Linked DNA regions of Homo sapiens: region 1 is linked to region 2. Evidence: promoter capture Hi-C in human tissues and cell types (Jung and others, 2019). All regions are on one chromosome and are shown on one strand. The core of a region is centred on a gene start or on the middle of the fragment in contact, and the rest is flanking DNA. Distances in the headings are between cores, read along the strand shown.

The links. Contacts are between HindIII fragments. The study calls those that stand out against the background at their distance.
Region 1: a fragment that was not itself captured here is called in contact with the fragment with the promoter of LDB1 in region 2 in 4 of the 25 tissues and cell types used here (IMR-90 fibroblasts, heart left ventricle, lymphoblastoid cells and 1 more).

Annotation. Positions count from the first base shown.
Region 1 is chr10:102,003,260-102,009,926 of GRCh38, forward strand. It overlaps ARMH3 (armadillo like helical domain containing 3), which reads right to left. Exons shown (of 26, transcript NM_024541.3): 13 at 6,115-6,190; 14 at 3,281-3,374. Among named protein-coding and RNA genes, the nearest start is that of ARMH3, 50 kb to the right of the region's middle. RefSeq lists a silencer at 1,267-1,316 and an enhancer at 6,588-6,657. The HindIII fragment of the contact is 7,966 bases long and covers 1-6,667 here.
Region 2 is chr10:102,115,287-102,121,878 of GRCh38, forward strand. LDB1 (LIM domain binding 1) reads right to left here and starts at 5,082. Exons shown (of 11, transcript NM_001113407.3): 1 at 4,800-5,082. The coding sequence starts at 4,824. It also overlaps a transcript of PPRC1 not described here. RefSeq lists enhancers at 1,858-2,560, 2,561-3,262, 4,968-5,719, 5,720-6,471, 6,472-6,592 and silencers at 2,149-2,388, 4,722-4,791, 4,882-4,961, 5,022-5,321, 5,342-5,471. The HindIII fragment of the contact is 10,982 bases long and covers 1-6,592 here.

The sequences.
Region 1 (6,667 bases), core at 1,505-4,004, 110 kb before region 2:
TCAAGCAATTCTCCTGCCTCCGCCTCCCAAATAGCTTGGATTACAGGCACCCACCACCATGCCCAGCTAATTTTTGTATTTTAGTAGAAACAGGGTTTCACCATGTTGGCCAGGCTGGTCTTGAACTCCTGACCTCAAGCAATCCACCCACCTCGGGCCTCCCAAAGTGTTGGGATTAAGGCATGAGCCACTGTGCCTGGCCCAGAACAAAGTCTTAATGTAGGCTTCCCAAAATTCTAAGACTTTAAATTAGACTCAGACCTCTTGTTAAGTGCTTTTACACTGCCTAAGACACAATATATAAGTTAAAAGGAGTCTTATAATGGCCCAAAAAAGCTAGAGAATCTATGGCTTTCTGCTACATTTTCAGCCATGAAGACTCAGTTGACTTTGGGATATTACTCATAATATGTATTCATAACCATAACAGATCCCTCTGGAGTTATTACGACATATGCAGAGAACATTTATGAACAGTGAGAAACATTTGCATTTTATGAACCCATAATAAACAGCAAGCACAACAAAAAGCCTTATGAAAAGAAATCAGCATGCCCAACCCCTGGCTATTTTCCCAGTTAGGCCTCCAAGAGCTAATATAAGACAAATATATTTTTATGTTGAAATACTAAAAGGTTTTAATTCATGTTATGGGTTAATGACCCAAGACTGTCATTTCAAACCACAGCCTGTTTTGAAGCTCAGAACCCGTAATCATCCCTTTGTCCAATACAAGGAGGCACCTAACTGGTAAGTGGGGCTTTTTTCCTGCTCATACACAGCAATAACTGGAAAACTATCTTATATAATATGTAGAAATATAGAAGTATATGTATTTTTAGTTTACCAGAAAGTCCTCTCATGCCAAGGCTGAGTTGTCAAATGTCAAGTCTGAGCTGAGAACAAATGTTATAGCTAAACTGCCGGCTTTTAAAAATATGGCTCTGGTGACATACCTTTAAATATAAGTGGGCTACTGAACACCACTATAATTAAGATCTAAAAATTAAAAACAAGGTTGTAATACTTAGGAACCCTACAGAAGGAAATGAGTTAGGAGACAGGGAAAAGAACAAATAGAACAGAGACAGAATAAAATCCCTCACAAATTAAAATCTTCTTCCTAAGGAAGAGTCATTCCTTGATCTTTGGCTTCATAATTCTTCCCAGCAGCTTTTGTCAAGGGAGACAGTCATTTGAAAGTGGGCTGACTTGATCTTCCCACTAGAAAAAATAAAAGCTCACTGGTTGTAGGTAAGTAAGCACAAATCCTACCATTGCATAATCAAGTGTGTGGGTGGAAGTGTTCACAATGAACAGTTTGAAAGGCAGTTCTCTGAAGCATCCAAACCCCAACATCACATGGAACTCATATATATATATATGGCTTTTGATATCCATGGTAACCAGGCAGGGTTCATTCTTAAAGAGAAAGTACTGTATTTCCATTGGGTTATTCTGTGGCCTGAATAAACAGAGACAAGTAGGCAATCCTTACTACTTGCTCCTTCTCAGTAAGATATTTTGGGGCTGGGCATGGTGGCTCATGGGTGTAATCCCAGCACTTTGGGAGCCCGAGGCAGGCGGATCACCTGAGGTCAGGAGTTCGGGACCAGCCTGGCCAATACAGTGAAACCCCATCTCTACTAAAAATACAAAAATTGGCCAGGCGTGGTGGCTCACGCCTGTAATCCCAGCACTTTGGGAGGCCGAGGCAGGCGGATCACGAGGTCAGGAGATCGAGATCATCCTGGCTAACACTGTGAAACCCCATCTCTACTAAAAATACAAAAAATTAGCCGGGCATGGTGGCACACACCTGTAGTCCCAGGGAGGCTGAGGCAGGAGAATCACTTGAACCTGGGAGGTGGAGGTTGCGGTGAGCTGAGATCGCACCCCTGCACTCCAGCCTAGGCAACAGTGCGAGACTCCGTCTCAAAAACAAATAAATAAATAAAAATAAACATACAAAAATTAGCCGGGCATTGTGGTACATGCCTGTAATCTCAGCTACTCAGAAGGCTGAGGCATGAGAATCGCCTGAATCTGGGAGGCAGAGGTTGCAGTGAGCCGAGATCACACTACCACACTCTAGCCTAAATGACAGCAAGACTCTGTCTCAAAAAAAAAAAAAAAAAAAAAAAGATATTTTGGGATTTGGCTTTCAATTCTAAACAGATCCAATTTGCTACCATATATATAACTAACAATGGCACCTCCCTGTCATAGTTCTGTACTGTTTATACTGCCTGGAAATGTTACTGCCACGGGTGGTATATGAAAACTTAAAGGAGAGAAAGAATAAAGAAGGTCATTTCACGTACAAACAGTGGGGAGGCAAAAAGAAAGTATCAAAGTTGGATTGTCTGTACTTCTTTACCAAAACAAGGTCAATCTTTGAGCTACAACATCAAATATTAACATAGATTGTTTTTAGGTTACAATATTCCACCAAACACACTCAGCCTATAATAGACCTCAAAATTTTTGGCAAAAATTCATAATTTCTTTTCTGTTGCCTTTTTCTTAGGTTCCAGCCATAAGATTTATGAAGGGGAAATTTTCACCGTTGTTGTCTTGAGGGAGATAAATCTTACGTATCCACCAAACTCCCAATTATAATACACTCAAAGCCTGTCCTTTCCAACTGGGAGTGGCTGATAGACACATAACAGTGAGTGAGTGCCAGGTTCACATTCTCATTCATTTATTCAACAAATATTTATTAAGCAAGTACCATGCTGGGCACTATGCTAGGCATTTAGTAGTAAACAAAATAGACAAGATCCTGCTTACATGTTTGGGTTCTCAGTCTCTACTCTCACTAATCTTAGGCAAACTGCTTCATTTCTCTGGCCTTAATTCCCTCATTGATCAAATGGTAACATCAGATAACATTACTATTTTACATTCATTTCAGTGCTTTATAATCACAAGGTGACATTTTTCACAAAATATCTCATCTGAGCCTCACAAGGACTCTGAGAGTGTGGCAGGACAGGCATTACTGACCTTGCAGGTCTAGCACTCCATGCCTCTACAACTACTCCCTGAGGAGGAAAAGCTAGAGTTATGTAAGCTTCTTTTACAGAGAAAATCACTGGACTGTCTTTTTCCAAAGTTTTCTTTGGAAATTTAGGAGGCCTGAAGGATAGTACTACAGACCAATTTAGTGGGAAAAATTAACAACTACGTAGGTTCTTTGTTGAACACAGCTATGCTCACTCTGAGAGATCTAAGATCATATTAACCAAGAAAAACAAAGTGGTGGTGGGCTCACCATCAGAGGAAGGCGGTGTGGTCCCAAGTGGTGTGACTGGGGTTGTAGGAGCAGGACTGACAGGGGTCGTCACCAAGCCCATTTCTGGATGGCTCTGAAAAAGATACACAGATGTGTAAGAAAACAGAAAATCCAGTTCTCCCTGAGTATCAAGTGCCTAATACCAATAAGGACTGGTATTCTGGACCTTATAATTTTTTTTTTTTGAGACAGCATCTTGCTATGTTGTCCAAGCTGGTCTCGAAATCCTAGGCTCAAGCACTCTCCTGCCTCAGCCTCCTGTGTACGTAGGACTACAGATGCATGCCACTGTGCCCCTAGTCTCATAATTAGAAAGCTCACTGAGGCTGGGCACAGTGGATCACACCCATAATCCCAGCACTTAGGGAGGCCTGGGCAGATCACAAGGTCAGGAGATCGAGACCATCCTGGCCAACACGGTGAAACCCCGTCTCTACTAAAATACAAAAAATTAGCCAGGCATGGTGGTGCATGCCTGTAGTCCCAACTACTTGGAAGGCTGAGGCAGGAGAATCACTTGAACCCAGGAGGCGGAGGTTGCAGTGAGGTGATATCACGCCACTGCACTCCAGCCTGGTGACACAGCAAGACTCTATCTCAAAAAAAAAAAAAAAAAAAGAAAAAAAAAGCTGAGAAGGGACTACTTCTGTATTTCGTTCTCATGAGTACTTGATTACGACTGATGCTTGCTAATCTCTAATAAGCTCTGTGTGCTAATTTATCTTAAGCAACTAGGTTCCCATTACATAAGTTTTTCTGTGGCACCACAGACATTTAAAAAAAAAAAAAAAAACTGGGGTCAACAAATATACAGGATTATTCTACAAGAGAGCAGAGAACATTTGCAATCCCATCCAGACCTGGGATCTCATCAGATCAACCTAAAACACATCAATAGGCTGTTCTGATAACCAAATAATTGACTAGCAGATGTAGATGAGTCAAGGGGATACCAGGTACTATAAAAAGAGCTATTCAGCCGGGTGCGGTGGCTCACACCAGTAATCCCAGCACTTTTGGGAGGCCGAGGCAGATGGACCACGAGGTCAGGGGATCAAGACCATCCTGGCTAACACAGTGAAACTCTGTCTCTACTAAAAAAAAAAAAAAAAAAAAAAAAAAATTAGCCAGGTGTGGTGGCAGGCACCTGTAGTCCCAGCTACTCGGGAGGCTGAGGCAGGAGAATGGCGTGAACCCGGGAGGCAGAGCTTGCAGTGAGCAGAGATCGTGCCACTGCACTCCAGCCTGGGTGACAGAGCGAGACACCATCTCCAAAAAAAAAAAAAAAAAAAAAAAGCAAAAGAGCTATTCAGATGGCGGCCTTCCTGTTCCACAACAAACAAAAGTGTGTGTGCCTTCATTGGGAGGCAAAGACATGGTGAGACACCCAGTAGGGACCAAAACAGATGACTCTTCTGTCCCTAACCTTTCTTAGCCATCCCTCCCACATCAGCTCTTGAGAATTAAGCTGAGTGATAGCTGTTTTTAACTTCCCTTTTCTTCCCTAACAGCTTTACCAGCACTTTACCTTCCTCACCTCTTCCTTTACAATCAGTTATAGGATTTGGAGAGCAGATAAGAAACGAGTGAAAATAATAACTAAAGTCTCTATGTTATCAGTCATGAAAACTCTTAAGTGTTCTATGAAGCAGATCTCAAACCAGCATGATGCTTTTTAAGCATGACCTTATTTTTGTGTTAAAATTCAAATCAATAGATTCCATATACATCTACCCTTTGAGAAAAAGCATAAGCAAACTTTCCCTTAAAATAACCCTACATACATATTTTAAACAGTCTGGCTTTAAGATAATAACACTTTATCAATTTTTTAAAATGGCTTTCATGGACAGCTCTTGAGTTCTTGGTCTACTTTAGTCCTCTTCTATGCCAATTACTGTGGCTATCCCTCAGGCATGTGACCCATCGCTCAGTATTCTGGGGGTATTTTTGTTTGTTTTTTTATTTTGTTTTATTTTGTTATGTTTTGTTTTTATTTTATTTTTTTTTGAGACAGAGTCTCACTCTGTCACCCAGGCTGGAGTGCAATGGCGCGACTTCGGCTCACTGCAAGCTCTGCCTCCTGGGTTCACGTCATTCTCCTGCCTCAGCCTCCCAAGTAGCTGGGACTACAGGCGTCCGCCACCACGCCCAGCTATTTTTTTTTTAATTTTTTTTTTATTTTTAGAAGAGACAGGGTTTCACCGTGTTAGCCAGGATGGTCTTGATCTCCTGACCTTGTGATCCGCCCACCTCAGCCTCCCAAAGTGCTGGGATTACAGGCGTGAGCCACAGCGCAGGGCCCAGCGCTCAGTATTCTATGACTTCCTTTCAATGTATGTAAACCACGTTATCTGTTAACAGCTAACCTTAACCTGGCCAGGATATTTTTTACTTTTTTCCTCTGGAAATTGGTGAGATAATAAGGTGAGTGGCTTGGCCTATTTTATCTCCAGTTGTAATTCCACAGTGGTGTGGAAAGCAGAAAGCCCAATATAAAAATCCACATAGCGGATAATACCAGGGATTTCTAGTGAGCAAAATGAAGTCATGACAATTCATTTGGGTTAACAGGATCAATAAATTGGCCAAAAAAACTAACTTTGCACGTTATTAGACCCATTTCAGCACCAATGGAAACATACATATTTGAGGACAGCAGGAAACAAAGGCAACTGATTCAACTCCTTGTTACTACCACTTACCAATGCAAAGCAGGGTTTAAACAAGTACAGCCAGATAGGCTTTTCAATGGAATTAATCGGTATGAAATTTAGAGAGAAAAAAACACTGGGATTTTTAATGTGACCAACCTGAGCTAATACTGTGATGAAGTTGCGATTTAAATGAACAGCTTCATAAAGTGCCAGAAGAATGGCCTCATTGGTTCTAAAGAAAAAGAGAACAAATTGGAGCAGTTTTTATAGTGGGGGGAGTTAAAACAGTATAACCATGAAGATAAGATTGGATTGCACCCCAGCGCCTCATTATCAATTCCTTTGCATTTCTAAAGTTCCCCTTTACTTGCCATTTGGGCGTATGCAAAAGTGTATAGGCAGGAGTCAGGGCCTTCACTTTAATTCCTTAGGACCAGTTCTCATCTACTTCATTATCTTCCCTCTGTTTTTCCACCTCAACCCAGTTAAGTCCTCAACTGGCTCAGACACCCATCCCTCTTTTGTTTCATTGCAGAGATAGTCTGGCAACAGTTGTTCAGCTTATTGTCGCTCAATACATATGAAAAGCAGAAATTTCTAAGGGTCCATTAATGTTCAAAACCCATGAAACATTTGAAAATCACCAAAAAAGTATGATTCTGTAAAAGATTAGCAAGAGGTAACACTGCACACTCTCATATCCAGCAGG
Region 2 (6,592 bases), core at 3,832-6,331:
GAGATGGAGGAGGGCGGGCTCCTCTCTGCAGACTCCAAGATCTTCAAAGCACCTCCCAAACCTCCCCCAAATCTTTCTCGCCCCTGTGATCGCTCAGGTTGAAGGCTGGCCCGGACTGCCAGCCTGGGCTCCCCTGGTGAAATCCTGGAGCAGCTGGGGGGAGAGGCTCCAGGGGGTTATTTTTGACAGACACACATTCTGACATCAGACTGTAAACACTGATTGGAGGAAGGGGGACACTCCAGGCTTCCCTGCCCCCAACCCAGCTAAATTCCAAGCCTTGACTTAGATCCCCCTTAACAGGAAGCCCCCTTCCCCACCACCACTGAAGACAAGTGGGTGCCAGGGAAAGAGGCATTGTCAGAGCTAGGGAAAGCCAACTTGGCCATCCAAGGGTCCCCAGAAGGAGCTTAGTTTGCTGCTGAATCCTCCCCACCACCCCAGAAAAAAAAACGTGTGGTTAGTGGATAGGACCTGTTCTCCCATCCAGCAGGGCATCCCAAGGGAGCAGATATTTCTATTTTTTTTCCTAAGGTAATTTTGTTGTAGCAGGAGGGAATATTTCTAAAACTTGGGTAGTGGGCCAGACCTTACTCGTGGACAAATAGGAAAAGGAAAATACATAGTACACACACACACACACAAACACACACACACACACGGGAAGGGGGAGCACGAACCTTCTATTTCCTTCTTTGCAATTTGAGTGTCTGTTTCTCTACTTCCTGTCTCCTACCCCCAACTATATTCACACATAACTCCAAGGACAGGATTTCTTATGACATACTCACTAGTTAACTGTGCAGTAATATTGCACCTGGCTCTGTGAACATCTTCCACATAAATAACACATCTCACTTTCACATAAATCACTACCTGATACACATTTCAACCTGTGATATATCTTTTTTCCAAGACGGAGTCTCGCTCTGTTGCTTAGGCTGGAGTGCAGTGGCGCGATCTCGGCTCACTGCAACCTCCAGCTCCTGGGTTCAAGCGATTCTCCTGCCTCAGCCTCCTGAGTAGCTGAGATTACAGGTGCATGCCACCACACCCAGCTAATTTTTGTATTTTTAGTAGAGACAGGTTTCACTATGTTGGCCAGGCTGGTCTCGAACGCCTGACCTCAGGTGATCCACCCACCTTGGCCTCCCAAAGTGCTAGTATTACAGATGTGAGCCACCGCGTCTGGCCATCAACCTGTGATATATCTCAAATCCTAAATATACCCAAATCCTGGATATATACACACACACACAGTCTAAGTCATACACACTGGGACCTATGACACGCATCCTGACCTCAATACACACACCAAAACTGTGTTATAACCCCTAAACCTGTGACAGCCTATCACATACACACCCCGATCATTTATTATGCAAGGACTTAACCTATAAATCACCCTCTCTGAAGCCTGCGTACCATTCCTCATCACAGCCTGGCCATAGAATAAACCCCAGCTTTCACAAACATACTGAAATCTATAACATTCAGCCAGACCCTGCAACATACAGCCTATCACCAGGACTTAAGACACTCCCACTGACTCCCAAATTTACAGCTTAACTCTGGGGTAGTCCCACTTCTCCCCCACTGCCTTTAAACTTTCCAAAGTGCATTCACAGGCAGTACCTCAAGAGATCCTCATAGCACATAGGGCCAAATATCCTAACAGTGAGATCCTAACAGAACCCACTGAGACAGGATGACCAGGGTGGGCTGGGGGGTGGGGGGGTTGAACCCTGCACTTCTAAACCCACCAGATACAAGCCAAGCCCTGCAGCCATTCCTACTCCCTTCCCCCTCCAGGCCTCAAATCACTGTCCTCATGGGGAGGGGGAAATGTGCTCTGGCTTTTGCCTCCAGCCCAGAGCTCAGAACCCCACACCCACCCTGTCTCCTCAGACAGGAGGGACTACAAGGGCCCTCCAGTCTCGCTGTGGGGTGGAGGGGCCCCTAAATGCCAAGATGTATCGACTGGCAAACCATTCAAAACAGGCCTTCTAGTTATTCTCTAGCAAGTCTGCTCCTTTCTCTGCTCTGACCAGATTTACCCAGTTGCACAGGGGCAGAACAGGTCCAGCTAAAAAGAGCAAGTCTGAGTTAGAAGGCCTTAGAATTGGTGGTGAGGTGGAGGGAGCAGCAAATAATGACAAAGATGATGAGGGAAAGTACTCCTCCTGGAGGTGGGGACTCAAAGGACAGCAGCCAGCCCCAGCCCACAGGATGAGGTACCAGCACTGCCCCCTGCCCGGGCCCCTGGGGCTCCCTGACCCAGGCCTCCAGTGTGCCTGCCCCCCTTCCTTTGTCTGTGCCCGGCCTCCCGTTGGCCTGGCGCTCTGCCATCCTCCTCTCCTGGCTCCCAGCCGCCACCACTGCTGCCTCCTCCCCTCCCCCTACTCCTCCCTGCCTTAACCCTTCTGAGCCACATGCTGCCCCAGACAGGCCCTGGCCCCCTCAGCCTCTTGCTCAGGGTGATGCCCCTTAGTCAGAGGCTCTCCCTGCTCCCAGCCATTCCAGCCCCAGAAGCTGGTCCTCACCCCAGGAGCAATATGGGTGTTGGGCATGTGTATGTGTGTATCTTGTGGTGCTTCTGCGTGTGCATGTGTGTGGGTCTGTGTGCGCTCTGGCTTCCCTCAGTCACATGTGTGGGGCATGTGCTGTCTCTGCCGGGCTGGGGGAGGAGGAGGAGCCCGGAGACAGCAGAACACAAAGGAGAGACTCAGACAGGCAGGCAGGCAGGCGGCAGGCGGCCTGCCAGGGCGCCTCAGCCCTCACCCCAGGGCTGCTCAAGGTGGGGGAAATCTTTGGGCCTGGACTGCTACATGCTGCCATGCCTTCCTTGTGTTCAAGCATGTGCTCCCCCATCCAAGCAAGCTGCAAGCCAGGTCCCCTCTCTAACCTCAACTGCTACTATTCCCCACCTCCAGTCTACTCTGAAGCCCTCCCCATGTGGTTCTCCTTGAAGTCTAACCTCCATCCACCCTCTTTGGCATCAATCTATAAGACTTCTTCATGATCTGGAAAAAGACTCCCCACTCTTCCCTATCTTTTGCCCTCTCTCCCTCAGTCAGACCACCAGACACAAAAGGAACATGCCTTCTGGGGCATTGACTGAAGTTGTCTTCCCACCCACCCACAAACCCCTGGGCTTGGGCCCTCTTCCTGTTCCCATGCTGCTCCCAGAGACTAAGAAGAAGAGATTTTCTCTCTCCTCCCACTGGACCCAGGCACCCTGCCCCAACTTCAGGGCCAACCTCCCATCCACCTCCAGCCTGACAACCCCTCCATACATACATACCCGCTTACCCACTATTTGTAGGAACTAAGAATCACAATTTAAGACTCATCCCTCTAGCTTGTTCAGATCCTTAGTTTAACTGCTCTGCTCATGTGTGTTGATGGAGGGTCAGGGCCCTGGGGTGGGCTAAGAACATGATGGATCTGAAAGGGGTACCCAGCATGGGTCAATTATAAAGGAGAAAATCCACAACATAAACATGTACACCAAGCTGGTAGAAAGAGGGACGACGGGGCCAGACAGGATTCCAGCTTGGCAAGCTCTTCCCTCTCCTCTCCCCAACCCTCTGCAGCAGGAGCCAGTGGTTCCCATACTCGGATATTCTAGGATTGTTAGGTTCTCTTATTCCTCCTTCTGGGACCCATGCCCCTTAGACATCAGCCTCAGCAGGCACCTGAAGTGTGTGCCCAGCCCAGCTTGGCCTGGGTCACATGATTTTCAAGGAAGCTTCCGCACTGGCAGCTTCCCTTGGGGATTTGTGGGGGAGTGGTGGGTGTCCAGCTGTGAAGTATGTAGCCAAAGCGGGCTACATTCAGGGACACTGACTTCCAGGAGAAAGCTGACTCCAGTCTGGGGCAGGAGGGCCAATTCCAGGACCCAGAGTCCCGGGGATGGAGACAGACAGTGTGCCGTGAGGCCCTCTGTAGACTACCTCTCCAGTCGCATGGCTTCTCTCTTTCCTCCTGGCAGTGAGGTAGACGCCCTCCGCCCCCCCCACCTGCCCCCCAGGAAAAAAACTCAGACCTAGGCTATCCCTGGCAAGAGCTGATATGTTTTGGGGAGGCAGGGATCTGAGCCTGGGTCCTCTCTCAAGTTCTCAGTTTTGGGTCAAGTATTGCTCCCCCAGCTTACCTCTCCACAAATCACTCTATTTCCTAGCCTGCCCTCCCACTAGGGCGGAGATGCCAGACCCAAGGGTCCAATTATCTGGCACCTCTTAGGAGTACCTCCGGTGCCTCAGGAGGGCCAACCTTCCCTGGCAACAGGCAGGAAAAGTTGAAGGTGGGGGGCAAGATGGGCCGCAATCAATACCTCCCTGCAAACAGGGTCCTCAGAAACAGCATGGGGGGGATGTCACAGGATAGGTAAGAGGCAATGGGCAGCAGGGAAGGGGGGGCAGCCCAAACCAGCCAATCACAACTCTATGGTGACCTGAGGGGGGGGGTCAAAAGTCCAGAGTCACTTCTGATTGGCTAACAACCTGGAATTCTGAGAATTTCAGCCCCCCCCAAACCTCTCCCCAATTAGCCTACCCCCAAAAAAACATACACATAAGCCACCCCCAGCGTCTCCTCCCCGTGTTTCTGGGCTGCTGCGCATTTACACAGTTGGGGAAAACGCTACCCGCCAGCCTGAGGCCCCGCGTAGCCCTTCCAGCCCCCGGCTTCCCCCATGCCATCGACGCCCCCCACACAAGTTCTCGCCAAACACGGGGTGAGGGGTCCGCAGGGACGGCTGGGCAGGAAGGGGCCGAGTGGCCGCACGCCCCACTCACCAGGACAGGCACAGCCCACTGACATCTTCACATCGCCCGCCTCTGGGGGCCCAGCCGAGTCACGGTGCCCGCCCCTCGCGGGGACAGGCCGGGCATGAGCCGCCGCCGCCGCCCGCGGCCCCCGCTGCGCTCGCCGCCGGCCCGGCCCGGCCTCGGCCCGGTGCGGGCGGCCCCTGGCTGCGGCGAGGGGCCTGTCAGGCGCGGAGCAGACAGGAAGGAAGCCAGGCAGGAAGGCGAGCGGCCTCTGCGTGTGTGCGCGCGGGTGTGAGTCCGCGGAGTGTGTGTCCGTGTGTGCGTGTGTGCGCGTGTGCGTGTGCGTGTCTGTGCGCTCCCGCCGCCGTCGCCGAGCGCCCCCCTCTCCGCCCTCGCGCTCGCGCTCCCTCGCGCCGGCGCCGGCTCCCCAGCCCAAGCCGGGCAGGGCCGGGCTTTATTAATATGCTAATTGTCCTGCTAGTGGGAGGGGAGAGCCGTGTCAAAGTGACCCGGGAGAGCGCGCAGCAAGCGACGACGTGCGTGCGCCGCGCGGCGGGCGGGCGGCGAGGGGCTGGGAGCGCTCGGGGAACGGCATGCATGTGACGCAGCTTTTAAAAAAGGAGACGGAGGCAGAGACCCCAGAGAGGGAGGGCGAAGGGGAGGGCTTGGAGGCGCAGCCGCGCGCTCGGTGTCCGTCCTCCGGGTGCCGCCGGATGGGGAGTCTGGCTGAGCCGGAGCGGGAGCCGCGGCTGGGGGAGGCGGAGCCGGGGTGGGCAGTGTGGTGTATCTCTCTCCACCCCGGGCCGCGCTCCGGGAGGGAAAAGGGACTGCAGACCCCCTGTCCGTGCTCCCTGCTGAGACGCCAGCCTTCTTCTGGAGGCCCCTTGTTTCGCGTCCCTACCCTAGGCTGGATGGGTAAAGAAGCATTCTCTTAATTCTTGTAGCAACCCCTCAACTCACCCCTTCCCTAAATTAACCACTCCTCCTTTGCCTGCGAAACCAGTTGGGACTAGAACTAAAAGGGTTAATTAAGTGGGGTCCCCGCCCTCCTCCGCCTAAGGGCTTGGGATCTGTGTTTTGCTGGGGGGAGGGGGCTGCGGAATGACCACCAGATTGGATTACGGAGGGGCGATAGGAGGCCATCCTTCCTTCTTGCAGACTGACGCATCAGTCAAGACACTCTCTTCCCTTCCCCCCTTTCTCCAGCCTTGGTGCCTTCACCTCCGTACCAACCGCCCAACCCCACCGCCTCCGACCCCCCTGCCTGGAAGCTGCTGTCCTTTGAGGGCTTCGGAGATGAGAACAGGAAACAGGCCCCTCCAGTGCCCCCTAACCCAGAGAGGCAGAGGCTGTGGGCCGTGGGGGGTTGGATGGGAGATGATGTGGATGGTCAATGTAAGGAACACTCCTTCCCCTGGGAGGAGCCTCCCAACCTTCAGTCACACTTCAAGGACTCCCCAACCCAGCCCTAGGAGGGGAGGGGCTCCATCTCCATCCCTTCCCAAAAGCTCAGCTTTAGCTGCCTCATAAACAGGAAATACCTATTAGCCAGGAGGAGGGAAGGGAGGGGAGCCGCCTGGAGTAGAGAGTTGACCCCCTCCCTCCTGGGGTCCCCAGCTGCTAGCTTTTCTTTCTTAAGTTTCAGTATGGGCTCCAGGGATAGACGATGGAGACTTGGACTAGTGTCTCCTCCCTAGGGCGTCTGGCCCTGACTGGGTAGGGGGTTCTCCTCTTTGTTACTTAGAGGGGTGTTGGTTGAGAAGGCTGTTTGGTTCCCTCACTCTGGCTCAGAGTCTGCACAGCTGGCTTGACTGGCTGGG